2 separate regions of the Homo sapiens genome follow, and region 2 is linked to region 1. The links are contacts of gene promoters, found by promoter capture Hi-C in human tissues and cell types (Jung and others, 2019). All regions are on one chromosome and are shown on one strand. The core of a region is centred on a gene start or on the middle of the fragment in contact, and the rest is flanking DNA. Distances in the headings are between cores, read along the strand shown.

What was found. Contacts are between HindIII fragments. The study calls those that stand out against the background at their distance.
Region 2: a contact is called between a fragment that was not itself captured here and the fragment with the promoter of EIF4H in region 1, in 1 of the 25 tissues and cell types used here (lymphoblastoid cells).

The regions. Positions count from the first base shown.
Region 1 is chr7:74,171,838-74,178,407 of GRCh38, forward strand. EIF4H (eukaryotic translation initiation factor 4H) reads left to right here and starts at 2,519. Exons shown (of 7, transcript NM_022170.2): 1 at 2,519-2,605. The coding sequence starts at 2,547. RefSeq lists a silencer at 2,270-2,779 and enhancers at 2,282-2,576, 2,558-3,071, 3,072-3,584. The HindIII fragment of the contact is 15,155 bases long and covers 1-4,747 here.
Region 2 is chr7:74,396,112-74,402,559 of GRCh38, forward strand. It overlaps CLIP2 (CAP-Gly domain containing linker protein 2), which reads left to right. Exons shown (of 17, transcript NM_003388.5): 14 at 963-1,122; 15 at 4,259-4,444; 16 at 5,394-5,456. Among named protein-coding and RNA genes, the nearest start is that of GTF2IRD1, 55 kb to the right of the region's middle. The HindIII fragment of the contact is 5,500 bases long and covers 2,186-6,448 here.

The DNA.
Region 1 (6,570 bases), core at 1,269-3,768:
GCGTGGTTCCCACCTGTAATCCTGCAATACCACTACTTCGGGAGGCCAAGGAGGGAGAATAACTTGAAGTCAGGAGTTCAAGACCTGCCTGGGGGGCCGGGCACGGTGGCTCACACCTGTAATCCCAGCACTTTGGGAGGCCAAGGCGGGCGGATCACAAGGTTAGATCAAGACCATCCTGGCTAACACGGTGAAACCCCGTCTCTACTAAAAATACAAAAAATTAGTCGGGCGTAGTGGCGGGCGCCTGTAGTCCCAGCTACTCAGGAGGCTGAGGCAGGAGAATGGCATGAACCTGGGAGGCGGAGCTTGCAGTGAGCCGAGATTGCGCCACTGCACTCCAGCCTGGGTGACACAGCCAGACTCTGTCTCAAAAAAAAAAAAAAGACCCGCCTTGGCAACATGGCAAGACCCATCTCTACCAAAAACAAAAAAAAAAAGAAAGTAAATAAGAGTAATAGAGTAATGGGGGCAGGAGCATGGAGCAGGGGTCCAAGTTTAAACTGCGCAAGGAGAAGAAACCATTGGTTATTTTCTGAGCCATGTGCTAAGGTCAAAACTAGGTGACCTTGGGCAAGTCTCTTTCTCTCTGGGTGGTTCCACAGCTGTTAAACAGGTTTGGAAATTATTATCTACAGGTAAAGCACCCATAATGGTGCCAGACACCTTGGTAGGTCCCCAATATATATTGTGTGCCAGGAATTTTACATATTTACTAATTTGAATCTTTACAACACTGAAGAGGTAGGTGACATTATTATATAGATGAGAAAACAGGCATGTTAAAGCGGTTAAGCAACGTCCTCGAGGTCACTCAGCCAGTAAGACGTTAACTGAGCCTAGGTTCAATCTAGGTCTATCAGGCAGCAAAGTGTTTTATTACTTGGGAAGAAAAAGGCACAGAAAAATGAATAAGTGAGTTCAACACTATTAACTCATGAATTGATAATGCTCTGTCCATCTTAACACTGCTATGAAGGAGAAGATACTCAAATATAAAAGTTGGCAGGGCACAGTGGCTCATGCTTGTAATTCCAGCACTTTAGGAGGCAGAGGCAGGAGGACTACTTAAAAGCCAGTAGATCGAGACAAACCTGGGCAACATAGTGAGACTCTGTCTCTACAAATAAATGTTTTACAAAGCAAATTAGAGCCAGGCACGGTGGCTCATGCCTGTAATCCCAGCACTTTGGGAGGCCAAGGCGGGTGGATCTCAGTTCAAGACCAGCCTGGGCAACATGGTGAAACGCTGTCTCTACTAAAAATACAAAAATTAACTGGGTGTGGTGGTGCACGTCTGTCACCCCAGTTACTCGGGAGACAGAGGCAGGAGAATTGCTTGAACCGAGGAGGTGGAGGTTGCAGTGAGATGAGATTGCGCCACTGCACTCCAACCTGATTCTCCATCTCAAAAAAAAAAAAAAAAAAATGCAAATTAGGCGAGGTACTGCCCGCCTATAGTCCTAGCTACTCCAGAGGCTAAGGCGGCAGGATGGCATGAGCCCAAGAGGTCAAGGCTGCCGTGAGCTACCACTGTTCCACCGCAGTCCAGCCTGGGCGACAGAGCGAGACCCTGTCTCAACAACGAACCAATAAATACATAATAAAAAGTAATGGTTAAGCGGAAGATACCTAGGTACACATCACAACAAAATTCTATGAGGTTCTTTCAAAGTGTGCTTAGATAATTAAGGTTTGTCAACATCGTGGCATCCACAATTACTACCATCTCAATCACAAACCTGGAAATTTACCCGTGTAATTAATTCCCACTGCATAACCATGTTTTGTTATTGCTAGATGATGGAATCCACAACAGTATCCAATTCTTTTTCCAAGGCAACGACTTCTGCAAAAAACCGAGATGTGCAGTCTCTCTTGCTAAGTCACCGATCACCTATACTCTCTCCTCTCAAAACCCCCCAATACCCAGGCAGCGAGTAAGCCCTGGAAGGCAGGATTCGTGTCTGCATCCCACCGCCTCGCACCCCCTTCCGGGGCATCCTCATCGTGTGGCCAGCTCCTGCCTGGAGAAGGAGGTGGCCTTTACTTGGGTGTCACCCGGGGACCACTTGGGGGTCCAAGCGGGACAGGCCTCCGAGGTCCCCGCCATGTATGGAGGCCGAAAGGCAGCGTCCCAGGCGAACTGGAGAGGGAGTTCCCCCCAGCTCTCCAGGTCACCTCCCGCCGACGGACGGAAAGGCCGGCGCGCACGGGCGTGGTGCGGCGGGGATAGGAGGCAGCCACGGGCGCACCCCAGGGCCAGCACATAATGGGCCGCGTAGGCCGGGCAGGCGTCCAGCTGGGACGCCGCCGCACCACGTGGGCTGCAGAGCGCACGGGGCAGGCAGCTGCCGGTGGGCCCAGGGCCGGGCGCTGCGCGGCCAGCGTCCGTGCGTGCGTGCGCGCGCGCGCGTGCGCGTGCCTGCGTCCAAGGGATTTGCGATCAGGCGGCGCGGCGGACAGCCCCGGCGGCGGGGCGGGGGGAGTTATATTGCGGGGTCCTTCCTCGCTCACCCTGGTTCCTCTCGGAGCGGAGACGGCAAATGGCGGACTTCGACACCTACGACGATCGGGCCTACAGCAGCTTCGGCGGCGGCAGAGGGTGAGGCGGGCGTGCGCGGGCCCCGTCGGGGGCTGCGGGACCGGCGGAGTCGGGGCCGTCAGGGTGGCGGCCGTCCTGCGCTCAGCCGGGGCGGCGGGAGGCGGGGGCCCGCGGAGGCCTAGGAGCGGCGCCTGGAGGGCCGGGGCCTGGAAATGGCGCGCTCGGAGACGGGGCGGCGGCGGCTGGGCTCCCGGGGTCTTGCTTGCGGGGCGGATCCCTTCCACTGCCTCCCGCCAACGACAACGTGTTGGTTTTTGCCCTGCCTTGGCCGCGGCGGCGCCGATGCCCGGAGACGAGCGCCCGCTTCCAGCCCCATCCCCCCTACGGTAGGACCAGTGCGGGGCTGAGCTGTGGCGCTGGGGTACGGGCCACACGGCCTGCCCCGCTCCGGTCCCGGCCTCTTTCGCGGCCCTCTGTTGCCTGCCCGCCTTGCAGGCCCCTGGCCCCTTCGCCACGAGGCCGGCCGACTGGGGAAGGTCGGCAGCCAAGAGGGGCGATTCCCTTCCCCTTACGTGTGAGGCAGGGATTTGGCGGCTCTGGCCCGGGGATGGTACGACTCCTTGCGGGCGGGGGGAGACCAAGGAGATAAATCCATCGTAGCTTCTTTGTATTAATCTTTCTTGGGTCACAGTGCCTTGACAGGTGCTACGTGCTCTTTGGCACAATTTCATTTCTCCTTGGTTTCTCGCTCTGATCTGGAGAAGGAACCGCATTTAGCGTCGTCCTGATTGTTGTCAAATGCAGACAACTATGTATAATTGAAACACTTTGCTTAAAAGAAACATCTTTGAATAGAGAGCTCATGGTGTTTAATTCCAGGACTCTGCACTTTTTTTTATTTTATTTTTTAAATACAAGTTGCCTCGTTAGAATATAGGCTATGAACATCTTGCTGTTTGTCAAGGACACACTTGGGCTTTGTGTTTTCTTGCAGAAAGGATTACTTTCCCAGGATAACACCACAATAATACACACTGAGGTGTTCAGTCTCCTGGGTTGCAGTCCAAAAGTATCTTTGTTTGGTAAAGAATGATCACTTTTAATACCTTGGTTTGGGAACGGCTCAGACAAAAGCTTGTTTCGGGGCAGGAGTGTAGCTAATGTTCATGATACTGTAACGTGGAAGTGTGCCGGTGTAGGTGGAGCTATTGTCATTCCAAAGAACATTTTATTTGCTAATAAAAAAAGAAGTAAATGTTGGATGACATGAAATTATCGCCTTTGGGTTAGGTTTCTAAACATCAAATTTGTTCTCAAGTCATTTCGAAATTTAATAACTAGGGTTTTTTTTTTTTTCCTAGTTCCAAAAAACGTTCACAGAAGTACCCAGAAAAATTCTTCTTAAACAGCGTGGTCAATTTAAGTTTTAGTTGCATTGGGACTACAATAAGGTGACCTTATTAAACTGAGTGTGGGGATTTAAAAAAATTTCCTTCAGACACATTTGCCAGCTCTTCTGGTGTCAAATTTTGACATTTGGGGGTGCCAGGAACAATCAGAAGTAAAATTCTATTAAGATGCTATTAATTTCAAATCTCCACAGCAGATGAAAATATTAGCCATTTGCCCCAGGTGTACTCCAAAAACTGATAGGAGAGTTTCCTAGGTAGCACTGTGCATCACTTGAACTTCCTAATAGAAAGTCTCTTTACTGTTAAGCATCTTCTATGTCTCACTTACTTGGAATTTTCTATTTGGCTTCATATTAATGTGAAACTACATAAAGTATTGCTACTTTCAGAAGTAGTTTTAAAAACTTGTTGGTGAATTTACATATTCATTTATACATGTGTATTCTTTTTTTTTTTTTTTGAGATGGAGTTTCACTCTTGTTGCCCAAGCTGGAGTGCAATGGTGTGATCTCGGCTCACTGCAACCTCCACCTCCCGGGTTTAAGCGATTCTCCTGCCTCAGCCTCCCAAAGTGCTGGGATTACAGGCATTAGCCACCGCGCCCGGCCTCAATTATTTTAATTATGTCCACATGAACAAATGTCACTGCTTTACAATGCTTAAGCATCATAGAAGATTGCCACCTATGGAAAGCAGTTTTAACACTGCATTGTTTGGTACTTGTGTAGGCACCTTCTCCCTTGTCTAAAATGCCTCAGACAGGCTCGTACATCTCACCTCTGAATTACTTGGGTCACAGGTGAAAGAAATGGTAGGCCTAAAATGAACAGTTATCATCATAAAACATAGTTTGGTAGTTATACATCTTCCTAAGTTTATTTCGTAGTTGTGTTTAATAACCAGTGCAGTTGTCAGGAAACAGTATTGAACCACTGCTTTTTTCCCCCGAGCCTGTAAGGGCATGTCCCCAGCAGCCAGGGAGAGAACCAGGGACTGCATTGTTCAGCAAGCAAATCAAAACAAAATTCCAAATGATCAAGAGTTGATTGTACCAGATCTTGAATGGACTTTGTTTTGCAGTTTGCTAAATTATCTTTTTGAGGTTCCAGTTTCTCATCTACCATTGGCAGTAAAGTGCAGAGTAATACTGATTTTATATTTCTAATTGCAACAAAGCTATGAGTGCTTAGTGGAAAACCACCGATCCTGAGAATTAGGGTGGAAATTGGAGGTGGCAAGAATTGAGGTGGCTGAAATGGTGCCATCTAAAAACTGGCAAAACTCCAAATTTATTCTTTATCAGGATTCAGTTAGGGAGTTTAGAATTCTTTTTTAAATAGAGATGGGTTTCACTATGTTGCCCAGGCTGGTCTTGAACTCTTGGACTCAAGTGATCCTCCCGCCTCAGCCTCCCAAAGTGTTGGGATTACAGGCATGAGCTACCACGCCCAGCCTAGGAGTTTAGAATTCTAACCTTTGAATCTTTAAACTTAGCATGTCTGTCTAAATTTCTGAGCATATTTTTATCCAAAATTTTTATGGTGGTAAAATATACATAACATAAAATGTGCCACTTTACCCATTTTTCAGTATACATTTCAGGGATATTGAGTGTATTCGTAATGTATAACCATCACCACTATCCAGCTCCTTAACTCTTACAGCTTGTAAAACTAAAACCCTGTCCCCTTTGAATAGTAATTCCCTATTGCCCTCCTTCCCCCAGGTCCCTGGCAACCACCATTCTACTTCCTGTCTCTGAGCATATTTTAAGATTTGTATGTAATAGGAAGGAAAGCAGTGTATAAAAACTACAGCTAGTTTTCACTGATGCTAGGGCCTGTAAAGCTATTGAAAAGCTTATTTTAAAATGCTGTTTACATGTCAAATGTCAAGTCGTTTAGGTTTGTTATCCTTCTTCACTCCAAGTGTTCCATTGCTTAGTTCCAAACCATTATCCTCTATGAAAAGTGTTACCAGAAATATTTGGATTTGCTAAGAGGTCTCTGCATGACGGTTCATGTAAAAGCCCTGGCTTTGGAATAAGGCAGACCAGAGTTTCATCAGTTCAGCCATGTGTTAGTTGTGTGATCTGAAGTAAGTTTCTTCACCTCTCTGAGCCTCGTTTTCCCCACATATGAGTTAGAAACATGTATTTATTTATGAAATAGGCTCTCCTTCTGTCACCCAGGCTGGAGTGCAGTGGCAGGATCATAGCTCAGTGCAGCCTCGACTTCCCAGGCTCAAGCCATCCTCCCACCTCAGCCTCCCAAGTAGCTGGGATTACAGGGTGCGCCACCATGCCCAGCTAATTTTTGTATTTTTTTGTAGAGACAGAGTGTCTCTATGTTGCCCAGGCTAGTCTCAAACCCCTGGGCTCAAGGGATCTTCCTGCCTCAGCCTCCCAAGGCTCATTGTGTGAGCCACAGTACCCAGCCTTCAATTTATGTTTCTATTAGAAATTAAGCTTTGTGGCTGGGTGCAGTGGTTCATGCCTGTTATCCCAGCACTTTGGAAGGCCGAAGCAGGCGGATCACTTGTGGCCAGAAGTTTGAGACCACCCTGACCAACGTGGCAAAACCCCATGTCTACTAAAAATACAAAACGGGTGTG
Region 2 (6,448 bases), core at 3,686-6,185, 230 kb after region 1:
TGCCCATGGCAGGCATTACCAATCGATCACTGCACTGTTTCCTGCAGACCCCAAATGTGGCCTCAGAACCATTATCATCATAGTACTCCAGGTAGATCCTGTCAGTTGATTAAGAGGTGACATGGGAGATAAAACCCATTTGACATCAGGTATTTAAAATGTCTTGCTGGCCAGGGGTGGTGGCTCAAACTTGTAATCCCAGCGTTTTGGGAAGCCAAGGCGGGAGGATCACTTGAGGCCAGGAGTTCAAGATGACCCTGGGCGACATAGCAAGACCCTGTCTCTATTTTTTAAAAATAGATAAAATGTCTTGCCTCATGAGATTTCTTGGGTAAATGTTTTGGGGTTATGTGTGTGTGTGTGTGTGTGTTTTAATTAAACAAATATATTGTCTTTTCTTTAAAAATTTTATTTATTATTATTTTCTTTGAGACAGCCTTGCTCTGTTGCCCAGGCTGGAGTGCAATGGCACGATCTTGGCTCACTGCAACCTCCACCTTCCAGGTCCAAGTGATTCTCCTGCCTCAGCTGCCCGAGTACCTGGGATTACAGGCACTTACCACCACGACTGGCTAATTTTTGTATTTTTAGTAGAGATGGGGTTTCACCATGTTGGCCAGGCTGGTCTCAAACTCCTGACCTCAAATGATCCGCCCACCTCGGCCTTCTGAAGTGCTGGGATTACAGGCGTGAGCCACTGTGCTCTGCACTCCCCCCACAACAACTTTAAAAAGTACTCTAGGAAAGGTCAAGTCCTCAGGACCATCCCAGCCCCAAATCCTGGCCCCTCTTGGGCTTTGGTTGAATTGTGTCTACTGTGGCCCCTCGTGGCACAGATGCCATCTAGTAGCCCATGTCCCCCACCAGTTGGTCAGCCCCTGGACACTTGGCAAATTGCTAGAGTGTGGGAGCTGGAGGAGCCAGGGCTGAGTGCAGTGGTTCTGTGCCCGCCTCACCCCCAGGAGCCTGAACGAACTGCGGGTGTTGCTGCTGGAGGCCAATCGTCACTCCCCAGGGCCGGAGAGGGACCTGAGCCGTGAGGTACACAAGGCTGAGTGGCGGATCAAGGAGCAGAAACTCAAGGATGACATCCGGGGCCTGCGTGAAAAGCTGACCGGGCTGGTATGTGGGGTAGGGGTGGCCTAGGGGCAGGGGCACTAGTCCGGGTGGGGCTGGGCTAGCCTTGCTGTCAGGCCATGGAGACTGGAGACCTCCTGGAATGACCCCAGGGACAGCTGAGTCATGGTGAGGATTTGAAATCTTCTAGGACCACAGGCAGGTGGAGGGACCCTGGCTAGCCGCTTTTGCAGACATCATGGCTGCCTATGTGGCAGTCTGTGTGATACGGTGCAAAGGAAAACTTCCTATCTGACCTGTCCAGAGGCAGGATGAGCCAATACAGGTAAAGAGCTCCCTGTTCAGAGGAGTAATCAACCACAAGCCAGTTCCTTGCTCAGGGTCCTGCAGTGGGGCTTCACACATCAGTCTCAGGAAGGAGACAAGAACTTGAAAGTCTACAGCAAGCCTGGGATTCTGGGTGGCTGAGTTTTTTTTGTTTTTTTTTTTTTTTTTTGAGACAGAGTCTCGCTCTGTTGCCCAGGCTGGAGTGCAGTGGCGCGATCTCAGCTCACTGTAAGCTCTGCCTCCCTGGTTCACACCATTCTCCTGCCTCAGCCTCCCAAGTAGCTGGGACTACAGGCACCCGCCACCACGCCTGGCTAATTTTTTTGTATTTTTAGTAGAGACAGGGTTTCACCGTGTTAGGCAGGATGGTCTCGAACTCCTGACCTTGTGATCCTCCTGCCTCGGCCTCCCAAAGTGGTGGGATTACAGGTGTCAGCCACTGCGCCCGGTCGAGATTTCTTTTCTATTATGAATAGGAACCTGACTTCACTGAGTCTGCAGAGACGGGTTGGGGTAGGCAGGTGATGCTGGTAGCATAGCACAGGACCATCCCCATCCCTTGGCCAGGCGCAATGGCTCACACCTGTAATCCCAGCACTTTGGGAGGCTGAGGCAGGCGGATCACTTGAGGTCAAGAGTACGAGACCAGCCTGGCCAACATGGCGAAACCCCATCTCTGCTAAAAATACAAAAATTAGCCGGGCATGGTGGAGTGTGCCTGTAATCCCAGCTACTTGGGAGGTTGAGGCAGGAGAATCACTTGAACCCAGGAGGCGGAGGTTGGAGTGAGCTGAGATTGCGCCACTGCACTGCAGCCTGGGCGACAGAGTGAGACTTTGTCTCAAAAAAAAAAGAATAAAGAAACCACCCCATCCCCATCCCATCCTCCTGTGATGAGCACTCAGGACAAGCCTGAGCCTGGTGAACGTCACGATATGGAGGGCGTGGGGTCCAGGAGGACAGGCCCTTGCCTGGGAAAGCTGTCCTGAAGCCCCCCACCACCCTCCTGCCCAGACATTGGGCTCAGCCACTGTAGAGGTGATGGAAGGAGAGCAGGGCCCAGCCCTGGGCAAGGGGGTGGTTCACAGGCTGGAGGGAGGGCCTCAGCGCCACCGACCCCCTATATCCGGGAGTAGGCCCTTGGCCCTCAGGGTTCCGGGATAAAGAGCATCACTCTGGCCACACACCCAGACTGTGGCTGTGGGGGTCACTGAGTCCTGCCGGCCTTCAAGTCCTGGCCTATCTGGCTAGCAGGGGTTGGTGGCTGCACCCTCTGTGGTCCCTGTGGCTCAACAGAAGATAAGCCCCTGGGGTTGGCACGGACTGGGGAGTCTTGAATACCCCCAGGGGCTTCCCTAGAGCCTTGTAGGAGTGCGCAGTGCTGAGCTCAGACTGGTGCCCATGGGGCACAGATTGGTCAAGTTTACTTGGGAAGTGGCGGCCTCTGCCCCAGGGTAGCCTCTTGTCTCATCATCTCCCTGCACTGTGTCCACGGGAGAACTTGGGAAGCCTTGGTGTGTGGGTAGAAGCCTCTTGATTTCAGGATGGAGGTTCTGTTGGGAGGTGGTTTGGAGGGTCAGAGCAGGCAGGACTGGGCAGTGCTGAAGGATGGAGTTTGTGCAGGAGCGAGGAGGCTGGCGGGCCTTGGGGCAGGTACAGCTCTGGGTGCCATGGTGGGGGTGACTATGGAGAGGAGGAACCTCATAAGACAGTTGGGTGGGGGCAGTGTAAGAAGAAGGGTGCTGGGTGCGGTGGCTCATGCCTATAATCCCACTGCTTTGGGAGGCCAAGTTGGGAGGATGGCTTGAGGTCAGGAGTTCGAGACCAGCCTGGACCTCATAACAAGACCGCATCTCTACAAAAAAAGTTAAAAATTAGCCAAGTGTGGTTGCATGCCCTGCAGTATCAGCTACTCGGGAGGCTGAGGTGGGAGGATCACTTGAGCCCAGGAATTGGAGGCTGTAATGAGCTGTGATTGCACCACTGCACTCCAGCCTGCACAATAGAGTGAGACTCAGTCTTTTTTTGGGGGGGGGGGGGTGGGGACCAAGTCTCACTCTGTCGCCCAGGCTGGAGTGCAGTGGCATGATCTTGGCTCACTGCAACCTCCACCTCCCGGGTTCAAGCGATTCTCCTGCCTAGGCCTCCAGAGTAGCTGGGACTACAGATGTGAGCCACCACACCCTGCTAATTTTTGTACTTTTAGTAGAAATGGGGTTTTACCATGTTGACCAGGCTGGTCTCGAACTCCTGACCTCAGGTGATCTGCCTGCCTCGGCCTCCCAAAGTGCTGGGATTACAGGCGTGAGCCACCAGGCTCGGTCTCTGTCTCTTTTTTTAATTATTTTTAAAGGCAAGGCTGGGCGCAGTGGCTCATGCCTGTAATCCCAGCACTTTGGGAAGCCGAGGCGGGTGGATCACGAGGTCAGGAGATTGAGACCATCCTGGCTAACACGGTGAAACCACGTCTCTACTAAAAATAGGAAAAAATTAGCGGGGCGTGGTGGTGGGCCCCTCCCAGCTACTCAGGAGGCTGAGGCAGGAGAATGGCATGAACCCGGGAGGCGGAGCTTGCAGAGACCCAAGATCGCGCCACTGCACTCCAGCCTAGGTGATAGAGCGAGACTCTGTCTCAAAAAAAAAAAAAAAAAAAAAGTCAAGAGGGATGGGGTCCTGGGTTCCCCACTTGGAGACCATGGAGCACCTCACAGAGGCCTGAGGGACCTCTGGGTGATGCCCAGGCTTGGAACCCAGAGACAAAGTGAGGCTGGAAGACTTTCCTGCCTAGAGTTGAGACGCCCACCAACACACACACGCACACTCATGTACTCTTCCACTCTCCTGCCACTTCCAGGACAAAGAGAAATCCCTGTCGGATCAGAGGCGCTACTCCCTCATCGACCGGTCCTCGGCGCCCGAGCTTCTGCGGCTGCAGCACCAGCTGATGAGCACGGAGGACGCCCTGCGGGATGCGCTGGACCAGGCTCAGCAGGTGGAGAAGCTGATGGAGGCCATGAGGAGCTGCCCTGACAAGGCCCAGGTGAGCCGCGGCTGACAGGGCCCACCAGGAGGCAAGCCACGGGGCAGTGTCCTCGGAGCCCCCGTCTGATGCGGGAGGCAGCCTTGTCTTTAAAACCCCAGTCTGAGGAGGTAGGGAGCTCGTCCCAGGAACCTGGTCTGAAGGGGGAGGTAGCCCTGTCCCAGAAACCCTGGTTTGAAGAAGGAGGCAGCTCTGTCCTGGGAACCCCAGTCTGAAGGGGGAGGCAGCCCTGTCTCAGGAACCCGGGTCTGAATGGGGAGGTAGCTCTGTCCCGGGAACCCCTGGTCTGAAGGGGGAGGCAGCTCTGTCCCAGGAACCCTGATGTGAAGGGGGAGGCAGCTCTGTCCCAGAAGCCCCCGGTCTGAAGGGGGAGGTAGCTCTGTCCCGGGAACCCTAGTCTGAAGGGGGAGGCATTTCTGTCCTAGGAACCTTGATCTGAAGGGAGAGGCAGCTCTGTCCTGGGAACCCTAGTCTGAAAGGGAAGGCATCTCTGTCCCGGGAACCTTGATCTGAAGAGGGAGGCAGCTCTGTCCCGGAACCCTGGTCTGAAGGGGGAGGCAGCTCTGTCCCGGGAACCCTGGTCTGAAGGGGGAGGTGGCGCTGTCCCAGGAACCTCCATCAGAAATGGGAGGCAGCCCTGGCCCAGGAACCCTGATCTAAAGCGGGAGGCAGCTCTGTCCTGGGAACCCAGCTGAAAGGGGAGGGAGCCCTGCCCTCTGGAACCCCCAGTTCAAGGGGCACATGGCTTTGCCCTGAGGAGCTTAGACTAAGAAGGAAGATGCAGCCTTACCCCTAGAGGCTTGGTCTTTGGGGGTGCTGGGAGCCCCAGGCTGAAGGGGTTGGAATTTGGAGCCTGAGACGGTCCCATGGGAAGACCTCGCCATCTAGTGGGAAAATCGGGAACTGCTGCCTGGTGCACCTGGCTCAGTGTCTCCCCTAACTCTTCCAGACCATCGGCAATTCCGGTTCTGCAAACGGCATCCACCAGCAGGACAAAGCTCAGAAACAAGAGGTGAGGGGCGCCTCGGGCCTCCCAGGTCCCTCCCGTGCAGGCAGACCTCTCTGGAGAAAATCCTTGAAACGTCACTAAGAATACACACAAAGATGCATTCTGCAAGAAGCTTTACAGTAGGGTCCCTCAGGGAGGGTGCTGTTGCAGGCAAACTTGATTCCAGATTCACCCTGCTCTTTTTGATTTGTGTTTTCTTCCCTTCTTAAAAAAGTTATAGGTTGGGCGCAGTGGCCCACGCCTGTAACCCCAGCACTTTGGGAGGCCAAGGCAGGAGGATCATTTGAGCCCAGGAGTTTGAGACCAGCCTGGCCAATATGGTAAAACTCCGTCTCTACTGAAAATACAAAATTAGCCGGGTAGGGTGGACAATATAGCGAGACCCTCTCTCTATTAAAAAAAAAAAATTTTAAAAAGGCTGGGCACAGTGGCTCATGTCTGTAATCCCAACACTTTGGGAGGCCGAGGCCGGTGGGTCACTTGAGGTCAGGAATTTGAGACCAGCCTGGCCAATATGGTGAAACTCCATCTGGCGGGCGGATCACAAGGTCAGGAGATCAAGACCATCCTGGCTACCACGGTGAAACCCCATCTCTACTAAAAATACAAAAAAAAATTAGCTGGGCGTGGTGGCGGGCACCTGTAGTTCCAGCTACTCTGGAGGCTGAGGCAGGATAATGGCATGAACCCGGAAGGCGGAGCTTGCAATGAGCCGAGATCGCGCCACTGGACTCCAGCCTGGGCGACAGAGCGAGACTCCATCTCAAAAAAAAAAAAAACCAAAAAAAAAAAAAAATACAAAATTAGCTGGGTAGGGTGGCGCACACCTGTAATCCCAGCTACACGGGAAGCTGAGGCAGGAGAATCGCTTGAACCTGGCAGGTGGAGGTTGCAGTGAGCCGAGATCGCACCATTGCACTCCAGCCTGGGCAACAAGCACAAAACTGTCTCAAAAAATAGTAATAAAAATTTTAAAAATTAGCTAGGTGTGGTGG